Regions from separate parts of the Homo sapiens genome. Here all the other regions are linked to region 3. The links are contacts of gene promoters, found by promoter capture Hi-C in human tissues and cell types (Jung and others, 2019). All regions are on one chromosome and are shown on one strand. The core of a region is centred on a gene start or on the middle of the fragment in contact, and the rest is flanking DNA. Distances in the headings are between cores, read along the strand shown. Region 1 has its middle 30 kb from the start of ONECUT3. Region 2 overlaps ATP8B3 (ATPase phospholipid transporting 8B3). Region 3 holds the start of MEX3D (mex-3 RNA binding family member D).

Region 1 (3,353 bases), core at 272-2,771, 150 kb after region 3:
CGTCATCCCCACTCACCCAGCATGTCTTGAAATTTTTTTTTTTTGAGACGGAGTCTCGCTCTGTTGCCCAGGCTGGAGTATAGTGGCGCGATCTCAGCTCACTGCAACCTCCACCTCCTGGGTTCAAGCAATTCTCCTGCCTCAGCCTCCTGAATAGCTGGGACTACAGGCATCCGCCACCAAGCCCGGCTAATTTTTGTATTTTTAGTAGAGACGGGGTTTCACCACGTTGGCCAGGCTGGTCTCAGACTCCTGACCTCAGGTGATCCACCCGCCTTGGCCTCCCCAAGTGCTGGGATTACAGGCGTGAGCCACCATGCCCAGTCATGTCCTGAAAATCTTGAGGCATCTAAGTTCCGATGCCTTGCCCAGGCTCGTTTAATCCTCACAACCACCCCTGCTCACACAGGAGAAGACCAAAGCTCAGAGAGGTGAAGCCACCTGCCTGGGGTCCCATGACACAGGGAGGCAAATTCAGGTGTGTCCTTCTTATGAGTCTGTCTTATGAGTCCTGGCATTGCCCCTCTCATTGGCATCTTTTTTTTTTTGAGACAGAGTCTTGCTCTGTTGCCTAGTCTGGAGAGCTCTGCAGCCTCTGCCTCTCGGGTTCAAGTGATTCTCCTGCCTCAGGCTCCTGAGTAGCTGGGATTACAGGTATCCACCACCATGCCGGGCTAATTTTTTTTTTTTTTTTGTATTTTTAGTAGAGATGGGGTTTTGCCATGTTGGCCAAGCTGGTCTCGAACTCCTGATCTCAAGTGATCCGCCCGCCTTAGCCTCCCAAAGGGCTGGGATTACAGGTGTGAACCACCATGCCTGGCCCCATTGGCATCTTGAGGCTCAGCCCCATGTGAGGTGGGACGGGTGATGCTTGACCCCATATGGGGCCTGCCCCAGGATCTACTTGATGGAAATTGAAGATGTCAGAAGACACTGAGGTGCATCCAGGTTCAGAGATGTAGCTGCTGCACTAGCCAATGGGTGGAGGTGCCCAAGCGTCCATCACCAGAAGGATGGATCCACACAACTCAGCCACAAAAAGGAATGAGGCTCTGACCCAGGCCACAGCATGGATGAAGCTTGAGGACATCACACTCAGTGAGAGATGCCAGACACAGAAGGACAAATCCTGTGTCACTCCACGCATGAAAGTGCCCTAGAGTCATCAGATCCAGAGATAGAAAGTAACATGGGGGCTGGGCATGGTGGCTCATGTCTGTAATCCCAGTGCTTTGGGAGGCTAAGTTGGGAGGATGGCTTGAACCCAGGGGTTTGAGATCGGCCTAGGCAACGTGGCGAGAGCCTGTCTCTACGGAACATACAAAAATTAGCCGAACGTGGTGGCACCTGTAATCCTAGCACTTTGGAAGGCTGAGGCAGGAGCATGGCTTGAACCCGGGAGGCAGAGGTTGCAGTGAGCCAAGATCGTGCCACTGCACTCCAGCCTGGGCAACAAAGTGAGACTCTGTCTCAGAAAAAAAAAAAAAAAAAAGCTTGAGATGGGAAACTTTATTTATATATGTTTTAACACCGTTTAAAAAATTTTGGGCCAGGCGTGGTGGCTCTCGTCTGTAATCCCCGCACTCTGGGGGGCCGAGATGGGTGGATCACCTGAGGTCAGGAGTTTGAGACCAGCCTGACCAACATGGTGAAATCCCATCTCTACTAAAAGTACAAAAATTAGCCTGGCGTGGTGGCGTGCGCCTGTAATCTAAGCTACTCAGGAGGCTGAGGCAGGAGAATTGCTTGAACCTGGGAAACGGAGGTTGCAGTGAGCTGAGATTGTGCCACTGCACTCCAGCCTATGTGACACAGCAAGACTTTGTCTCAAGAAATAAAATAAAATAAAATAAAACAAAATTTTTCAGAAAGGGATGAAGTTCTGACCCAGACCACAGCATAGATGCACCTTGAGGACGTCACGCTCAGTGAGAGACGCCAGACACAAAAGGACACACAGTGTGTGATCCTGTTTCTATGAAATGCCCAGGAAAGGCCCATCCACAGAGACAGGAGGGGATGGAGGGGTCAGAAATTCTAGATGCTTTTTCATTCAGGTGTACGTGCTGGGGGGGCCTTTATTATTCACGTGCCCATCCTCCGCTTATTTCAATGTGTTACCCTTGCCCGATGCTGCTCTTCTGCTGTGTTCCGGAACAAAACGTACTGGGCATAGCTTTGCTACCCAAGCGAAGGGGACTGAGAAACAGCGGTGGCCTCCTCCTTGGGTGGAATGCTGGGTGGTCATCAAAGGTGATGGGGGAGGAGACATTTAAATGACACGGGAAGATGCCCGTGAGATAACAGGAAAGACACAGACCACATGAGAGTCAGAGGTCAGGTGAGCCCATTTTGGTAAAACCCCTGTCTGTTGTTTTTTTAAGAGACCGGGTTGGCCGGGCGCAGTGGCTTACGCCTGGAATCCCAGCACTTCGGGAGGCCGAGGCGAGTGGATCACCTGAGGCCAGGAGTTCGAGACCAGCCTGATCAACACGGTGAAACCCCGTCTCTACAAAAAATACAAAAGTAGCCAGGCGTGGTGGCGCATGCCTGTAATCCCAGCTACTCGGGAGGCTGAGGCAGGAGGATTGCTTGAACCCAGGAGACGGAGGTTGCAGTGAGCCAAGATGGTGCCATTGTACTGCAGCCTGGGCAACAAGAGCAAAGCCCTGTCTCAAAAAAAAAAAAAAAAAAAAAAGAGAGAGAGAGAGAGAGAGGGTCTTGCTCTGTCACCCAGGCTGGAGTGCAGTGATGCAATCATAGTTCACTGAAGCCTCCAACTCCTGGGCTCAAGAGATCCTCCTGCCTCAGCCTTCCAAAGTAATGGGACCATGGCCAGGCAGGTAGCTCATGCCTGTAATCCCAACACTTTGAGAGGCCGAGGTGGGCGGATCACCTGAGGTCAGGAGTTCAAGACCAGCCTGACCAACATGGTGAAACCCCATCTCTACTAAAAATACAAAATTAACCAGGTGTGGTGGTGCATGCCTACAATCCCAGCTACTTGGGAGGCTGAGGCAGGAGAATTGCTTGAATCCAGTAGGTGGAGGTTGCAGTGAGCCAAGATGGTGCCATTGTACTCCAGCCTGGGCAACAAGAGCGAAACTCCATCTCAAAAAAAAAAAAAAAAGAAAAGAAAGAAAGAAAAGAAAAAGTAATGGGACCACAGGAACTCACCACTCTGGCTATTTTTCTAATTTTTATTTTTGTAGAGATGAGATCTCGCCATGTTGCTCAGGTTGGTCGCAAACTCCTGGCCTCAAGTGATCCTCCGACCTCAGCCTCCCAAAGTGCTGTTTTTATAGGCAAGAGCGATGGCGCCCGGCCTCCTAGAGCTTTAGGAGGGAGTATGG
Region 2 (3,544 bases), core at 953-3,452, 220 kb after region 3:
GGCACCCCCAGCCCCGCCGCCGCCACCCACTCTTGATCATGTTGATGTCGTTGGCACCGTCCCCGATGGCCAGGGTCACCACCTGGTGGTACTTCTTGACCAGGGCCACGATCAGGGCCTTCTGCTTGGGCGTCACGCGGCAGCAGATGACCGCCTGGCACTTGGACGCCAGGTCCACGAAGGCGCGCTCCTGCAGCACCTCGGAGCTACGGCGGGCTCTGGAGTCCTGGGCTGGCGGTGCAGCCAGCGGGAGCCCGAACCTCCGGCACAGCAGGGACAGGCGCCTGGCGTAGAGGAAATCCCTCCTGGACTGGCCGAGCTCCTGCCACGCCTCGTCCATGTTCACGTTCTGCGCCAGGGCGCGCGGCTCCTTCCGCAGGGACACCAGCAGTTTGTCCTGGCCGGCGGGGAGGGGGCTGTGCCAGGCGCCGTGGCCTCCAGGCCAGACTGGACCCTACCCGGCCCTCGGCCTCGCCAGCAGTCCCCACCCCGAGCCCGCCGCCCCTCCAGGCCCCTCCCTGGCGCCGGGACCCCGCCGTCCACCCTGAGCGACACTGACCAGGAAGTCTCCGTTAATGACCAAGGCCAGCTTGACCTGCGACAGGGACTCCCTGGTTAGAAGGTTGTTACTGTTTTCCCAGTAGGTCTCCAGGATGCGGCTGCGGGGCGCAGGGGTCAGCGGGGCAGGGGAGGGGGCGGGCTTCTCCCCACTTCCCCGGGGGCTCCACTGCCCCTCCCACCCCTTCCACTGCCCACTCCCCCACCCCTGCCCCTTCTCCTCCCCACTTCCCTCTTCCCCTCCCCTTTCCTCCTCCTCCCGCCGCTGCCCCTCCCCTTCCCCTCCACTGCCCACTCCCCCACCCCTGCCCCTCCCCCTTCCCTCTCTCCTCCCCTCTGCCTCCTCTCTCCTCCCCTCCCCCTCCACCGCCCACTCCCCTCCGCTGCTCCCCCCTCCCCTCCCTCTCCCCTCCCCCTCCCTCCACTGCCCCTCCCCTCCTCCCCACTGCCCCCATCCTTCCCCTCCACTGCCCACTCCCTCACCCCTGCACCTCCCCCTCCCCTCCCTTCCCTCTCCCCTCCCCTCTCCCCTCCCCTCCCTTCCCTCTCCCCTACCCTCTCCCTCCACTGCCCACTTCGCCACCCCTGCCCCTCCCCCTGCCCTCACCTTCCCTCCCTCTTCCCCCTCCCTCCTCTGCTCCTCCCCCTCCTCTGCCTCTCCCCTTCTCCCTCCACTGCCCCTCCCCCTTCCCTCCAAGCTCCCTCCACTCCCCATTACCACACTCCTTCCTCCTACCCTTCCCTCCCCTCTCAATCCCCCCCTTCCCACTGTGCCTTGGGCTCCCCGTCCAGTGAGACACGCACCTGGGTGCTCCTTGTCCTCACCTCCCCACTCCCCTTGCTCACCCCCCAACTCCCCACTTCTTACCTAATCTCCTTCTCCTCCAGAATGAGCATATTCTCTGACAGCAGCTCGCAGGCGAAGCCGATGTTCACAGCCGTTTCTGCGAAGCAGACCAGCTCAGCGCCTCTGCGACCCGCCCCGCACTGGCTGCCTGGGGGCCACGCCCACTCTGCCCGGTGAATCCTGGCCCGACCAATGGCAGCCACATGCCCCACCCCCTGGCCATGGTGATTGGTTCAGAGAAGGGCTTGTAACCCAGGCTCACCAATGAGAGCCAGCCCTGAGATTTTGGCTGTAGTTCTGGCCGGGACTGGGCTGCCCAGAGATGTGTCTGAGGCCAGGATCAGCAGGCACATGTGCCTAGGATCCACAGTGCCTTCAGGAACCCACAAAATGTCTCAATATCTTTTTAAATCAGAAGGGAAATAATTGAATATGTTTCCCTGGGCTGGCTCCTGGCCGACAGAGGGCACCCTGAAAATCACTTTTTTTTTTTTTGACAAGGGCTCACTCTGTCACCCAGGCTGGAGGGCAGTGGCGCAATCACGGCTCACTGCAGCCTCAACCTCCTGGGCATAAGCGAGCCTCCTGCCTCGTTTCTCTGGAGTAGCTGAGACCACAAGCATGTGCCACTGCGCTCCTCTGAGAGTTGCAGCATTTTTTTTTTTTTTTTGAGACAGAGTCTCGCTCTGTCGCCCAGGCTGGAGTGCAATGGTGCGATCTTGGCTCACTGCAACCTCTGCCTCCCAGGTTCAAGCGATTCTCCTGCCTCAGCCTCCTGAGTAGCTGGGATTACAGATGCGCACCACCACACCTGGCCAGGCCCATTTTTGTATTTTTAGCAGAGACGGGGTTTGACCATGTTGGCCCTGCTGGTCTCGAACTTCTGACCTCAAGTGATCCGCCCGCCTCGGCCTCCCAAAGTGCTGGGATGACAGGTGTGAGCCTTCAAACTTCAGGGAAGTTTGAAGACCCATGCTGCAGGGGCTTAGCCACCCGGAGCTGCCCGGGACTCACCCTGCTTGTCCCCGGTGAGCACCCATATTTTGATGTTGCTCTTCTTGAGACATTTGATGGTTTCAGGGACACCGTCCTGGAGTCTGTCCTCGATGGCTGTGGCTCCCAGCAGCTGGTGGGGGAGGAGGGCAGGGCGGGGAAGATGCTGAGCAGCCGTCCAGCTCCCTGGCGGGGGCAGGAGAGTCCCAGGGCCCCCTTGGGTGCCCCCGCTGCCCACCCACCCTGAGGTCCTGCTCCATCTCGTTGTACACCTGTTGCAGGGCCTGTGCCCGGTTCTGCAGCAGGAGGCTGGCCTCCTGGTGGCGCTGCTGCCAGTCCTCGTAAATGTCCTCAGCCACCTCCCTGTAGGCCAGGCACAGTGTCCGCAGGGTCTCCTGGGCAAAGGCCTGGGGGCCGGGCAGGTGGAAGCTGTCACCATGCTGAAGCCGACATCCGAGGCTCAGCCCTCCCCAACCCCCTGCCGGGCTCCGGAGCCTGGGTCCCCCAACCAAAAGCCTGTTGCCTCCCCAGCCAACAGCAGCCAGAAGGGATTCAGAAAACTGGTCTGAGGCCGGGTACGGTGGCTCACGCCTGCAATCCCAGCACTTTGGGAGGCTGAGGCAGGCGGATCATTTGAGGCCAGGAGTTTGAGACCAGGTTGGCCAACATGGTGAAACCCTGTCTCTACCCAAAATACAAAGATTAGCCAGGCATGGTGGTGGGTGCCTGTAGTCCCAGCTACTTGAGAGGCTGAGGCAGGAGAATTGCTTGAACTTGGGAGGCGGAGGTTGCAGCGAGCTGAGATCACACCACTGCACTCCAGCCTGGGCGACAAAGTGAGACTCCATCTCAAAAAAAAAAAAAAAAATAGAAAAAACAATAGAAAGAAAGCGGGGAAGAGGGCTGGGCGTGGTGGCTCACACCTGTAATCCCAGCACTTTGGGAGGCCGAGGCAGGCGGATCACTTGAGGCCAGGAGTTTGAGACCAGCTTAACCAATACGGTGAAACCGCGTCTCCACTCGAAACACATAAAAAATTAGCCAGGTGTGGTGGCGCATGCCTGGAATCCCAGCTACTCAGGAGGCTGAGGTGGGAGGATCCCTCGAACCTGGGAGGCCGAGGTTGCAGTGAGCTGAGATCGCCCT
Region 3 (3,360 bases), core at 310-2,809:
AGAACAATGGGGCGGCCAGAGGGAAGCTCCGACGATGCCACCGCTGGACCCCACACCCGGGGCCTGCCGCCCGCCGGCCTGCCCAGCAGGCTGCACCCCAGAAGTGGCTTTGACAGCCGGTCCTTCCCCAGGCCCCGAAATCCCTGACTCGGGGCCAGAGAGTGGAGCAGGGACCCTCTCCTGCCCGGTCCCGTCCCCACCCCAGTCAGGGCCCCAGGCTGGAGACTGAGACGTGCGCTCTTTGTACTGTCAGCCTTCTCTCCCGGTCCTGCAGGCGGCCCCCCTAAGCCACCCCTAAACCTGCGCTTGCCCCGCCCCGCCGCCTGTGCTGGGTGTGGGGCGCCCCCCGCCCGGCCGGAGCCCCGGGCCCTCGAGCCCCTCTCTGGGGTGCCCCTGCGGGCGGCCGAGGGCCTGGGCTGCGGCGCGGCTCCCCGGAGCCTTTCCGGGCTGGAGGCGGCCCAGACAAAGGCGGCGGCGGGGCCGGAGCGCGCAGGGGAGGAGCGCGGGCTGCGCCCAACTTTCTCCCGCGGCGGCTGCAGGACAAAGGCGCAAAGGCAGCGGCCGAGGCCGGAGCCCACGCGGGGCGTGTCCGGTGCGGGGCGTCCGGCGCGGGCTGGGCTGGGCTCGGGCGACCCCCTTCCCCGGGGCGGACGGTGCGGGGACCCCCAGGACAGCAACCCCCGACGAGGGCCACTCACCCTGGCGACCCACGATCTCGGCGACGTGCTCGGAGCTGGGCACCGGGACGCACTCGGTCATGTTGACGCTTTTCTTGCGGCTGCCGATCACGCTCATCTGGTCGGCCAGCAGCGTCGGGGGCCCCAGGGCCGCGGGGTGGGGCGCGAAGCCCGCGAACACGTCGGGGGGCGACGGCCGGGGCGGCGGCGGCGGCGGGGGACTCGCGTTGGGGTCCAGCAGCGGCAGCGACCCGGGGGCCACGGCGGGGGCCAGGGTCGGGGGCGCGCCGGCCTCAGGTCCGTCGGGGGGCACAGGCTCCGGAGCCGCCCCGCCGTCCGCGCCCCCCGCCGCCGCTGCGCCGTCCCCGGCCGCCCCCTCCTCGTCCGTGTCGCCAGCGCCCCCCAGCCCGAGCGCCGACAGCTGGTCCAGCGCCAGGCGGAGCGCGGCGGCCGCGTCGTCGGGTTCGGGCGGCGGCCGGGGCGCGGGCGCGGCCTCCTGGGCGCCCTCGGGCGGGGGCGCAGGTCCGGGTCCGGGGTCCTCCCCCGCCGCCCCCACGCCGCCGCCGCCGCCGCCCCCGCCCCCGCCGCCGTCGGGCTGGCCGAGCGAGCTGGGCATGGCGGGAGCTAGCGCTGGGGCCCGCGCTCCTGCCGCCCGCGCCGCCGCCGCCGCCCGCGCCGCCCTCCGCCTCTGCGAGCTGGGCCGCCGGCCGCCTGCATCCAGCGGCGGGGGCGGGCACGGGGGGCCGGGCGGGCGGGGCGGCGGCGGCGCGGGGCTGCTCGGGGCCGGGCCGGGCCGGGCCGGGCGGCGGCAGCGACTCTGGCTGCGGCTCGGCGGCGGCGGCGACGGCGGCGGCGGCTCCTCGGCGGCCGAGGCGGCGGCGGCGGCGCGGGACGCTCCTTCCCTCCCGCCGCCTCCCGCGGCCCCGCCCCGGCCCCGCCCCCGCGACGTCACGCCGCGGCCCAACAATGGGCGGCCCCCAGGGCGCAGGCGCGCGGGGCGGGGCCGGGGCGGGGCCGGCGCCGGGCACGTGGTCCAGGCCCCGCCTCCGCCCGGCGCTCGGGCGGGAACCCGGGCGCATCCGCACGTGCGGGCGCTGCTGCAGGTGTGTGCGGCTCAGCCCCTGCCTGGACAGCGCTCCCTCCCCAAGCCTGAGAGTCCCTGCCTCGCGCGCCCCAGGGCCCGAGGTCCCGCTCCCCAATTTCCCCTAGAGATCCGGGTCGCCCCCAAGCGAGGTCTCTTGCTCCACGCCCGCTTCCTTGTGCCAGGGACCCCCACCTCCCTGCATAAAGGCGTGGGGTCCTCTCCAAGTCCCCCTCGCGATCCCACTGGACTTCGAAGTCAGGCTCCTGCCCGCCCACCGCCTCTGTGCCAGGGTCCAACCCCCGCCCCACGGTGCACCCCCCAGGGCCTGGGGTCCCAGTCCCCAAGTACCCCTTGCTATCAGGTGGGCTTTAGGGTCAGGCCCCTGCCCCACCCCCAGCCTCTGTGCCAGGGACAGCTCCACAATCATGCACACCCCAGGGCCTGAGGTCCCTCTCCCCTAGTCTCTCCTAGCTCCCCTCTGGCTGGCTCCCGGCTTTGGGATCAGGCCACCTCCTCCACGCCACCTCCTCCGCCCCACCCAAGGCCACAGACCCGGTCTCTGTGCCCCCAGCCAGAGACCTCTCTACCACAGTGGTGCTTCCATGGCGAGGGCAGGCTCACACCAGCCAGAACCCTCCATGTGGAGCCCCACCCTCTTCTGGGGTGCCTTTCCCCGCAACGGGCGTTGTCCACCTCTAAAGCCACCCTTGCCGGGCGCGGTGGCTCATGCCTGTCATCCCAGCAGTTTGGGAGGCCGAGGCGGGTGGATCACGAGGTCAGGAGTTAGAGACCAGCCTGGCCAACATGGTGAAACCCCCGACTCTACTAAAAATACAAAAATTAGCCAGGCGTGGTGGCGCGCACCTGTAATCCCAGCTACTCAGGAAGCTGAGGCAGGATAATTGCTTGAACCCTGGAGGTGGTGGTTGCAGTGAGTCGAGATTGCACCACTGCACTCCAGCCTGGTTGACAGAGCAAGACTCCTCTCAAAAAAAAAAAAAAAAAAAAAAAATAGCCGCTTTCCCAGCGGCTCTTCCTCCAGCTGTCCTTCGGGGCCTTCCTTGCACCTGTGGGGTTTTTTGTGATAAACCTGTCTGGCTGGGTCTACCTGCCCCCCTCTTCTACCAGACCTGTCCCTGGCTGGCTGTGCAAACTTGGACCGAAGGCAGGGCTCTCTGGGCAGGAGTGGGGCAGCCTGCCCCTTTGCCTAGCAAGGCTTCTCCTCTGTCCCCTCCCCCCGCCTCACACACCCTGGGTCCCCCTCAGCCACTCTTCTAGTCCCTCAGCCACAGCCACCCACTGCTGGGCCCTTCACTTTTGGTGGCTTCTCTGCCCACTTCTTCCAGGCAGGCAGGGTCAGGATCCCCCTGCCTGGAGCCCTTCCCCACCCAAAATCTCTCTCCTGACCCCAGGCTGCATCCAGCCCCACTTCCCCTCCTGGGGTCCTGGACTTCTCTTTCGTGCACGCCCATGCTTGGAATTGTTTTTCTATCTCTCTTTCTTTCTCTCTTTCTTTTTTTCTCTTTCTTTCCTTTTTTTCTTTCTTTCTTCCTTTCTTTCTTTTCTTTTTCTTTCTTTCTCTTTCCTTTCTTTCTCTTT

What was found. Contacts are between HindIII fragments. The study calls those that stand out against the background at their distance.
Region 1: a contact is called between a fragment that was not itself captured here and the fragment with the promoter of MEX3D in region 3, in 3 of the 25 tissues and cell types used here (adrenal gland, dorsolateral prefrontal cortex and spleen).
Region 2: a contact is called between a fragment that was not itself captured here and the fragment with the promoter of MEX3D in region 3, in 3 of the 25 tissues and cell types used here (lymphoblastoid cells, mesenchymal stem cells and spleen).

What each region holds. Positions count from the first base shown.
Region 1 is chr19:1,721,586-1,724,938 of GRCh38, forward strand. No RefSeq gene overlaps it. Among named protein-coding and RNA genes, the nearest start is that of ONECUT3, 30 kb to the right of the region's middle. RefSeq lists a silencer at 1,404-1,593. The HindIII fragment of the contact is 4,546 bases long and covers 1-3,353 here.
Region 2 is chr19:1,789,331-1,792,874 of GRCh38, forward strand. It overlaps ATP8B3 (ATPase phospholipid transporting 8B3), which reads right to left. Exons shown (of 29, transcript NM_138813.4): 19 at 2,671-2,805; 20 at 2,420-2,531; 21 at 1,427-1,502; 22 at 560-659; 23 at 31-397. Among named protein-coding and RNA genes, the nearest start is that of ATP8B3, 21 kb to the right of the region's middle. RefSeq lists an enhancer at 1-788. The HindIII fragment of the contact is 6,480 bases long and covers 1-3,544 here.
Region 3 is chr19:1,566,766-1,570,125 of GRCh38, forward strand. It overlaps MEX3D (mex-3 RNA binding family member D), which reads right to left and starts at 1,560. Exons shown (of 2, transcript NM_203304.4): 1 at 699-1,560. The coding sequence starts at 1,293. RefSeq lists silencers at 1,560-1,749, 1,790-1,839. The HindIII fragment of the contact is 18,806 bases long and covers 1-3,360 here.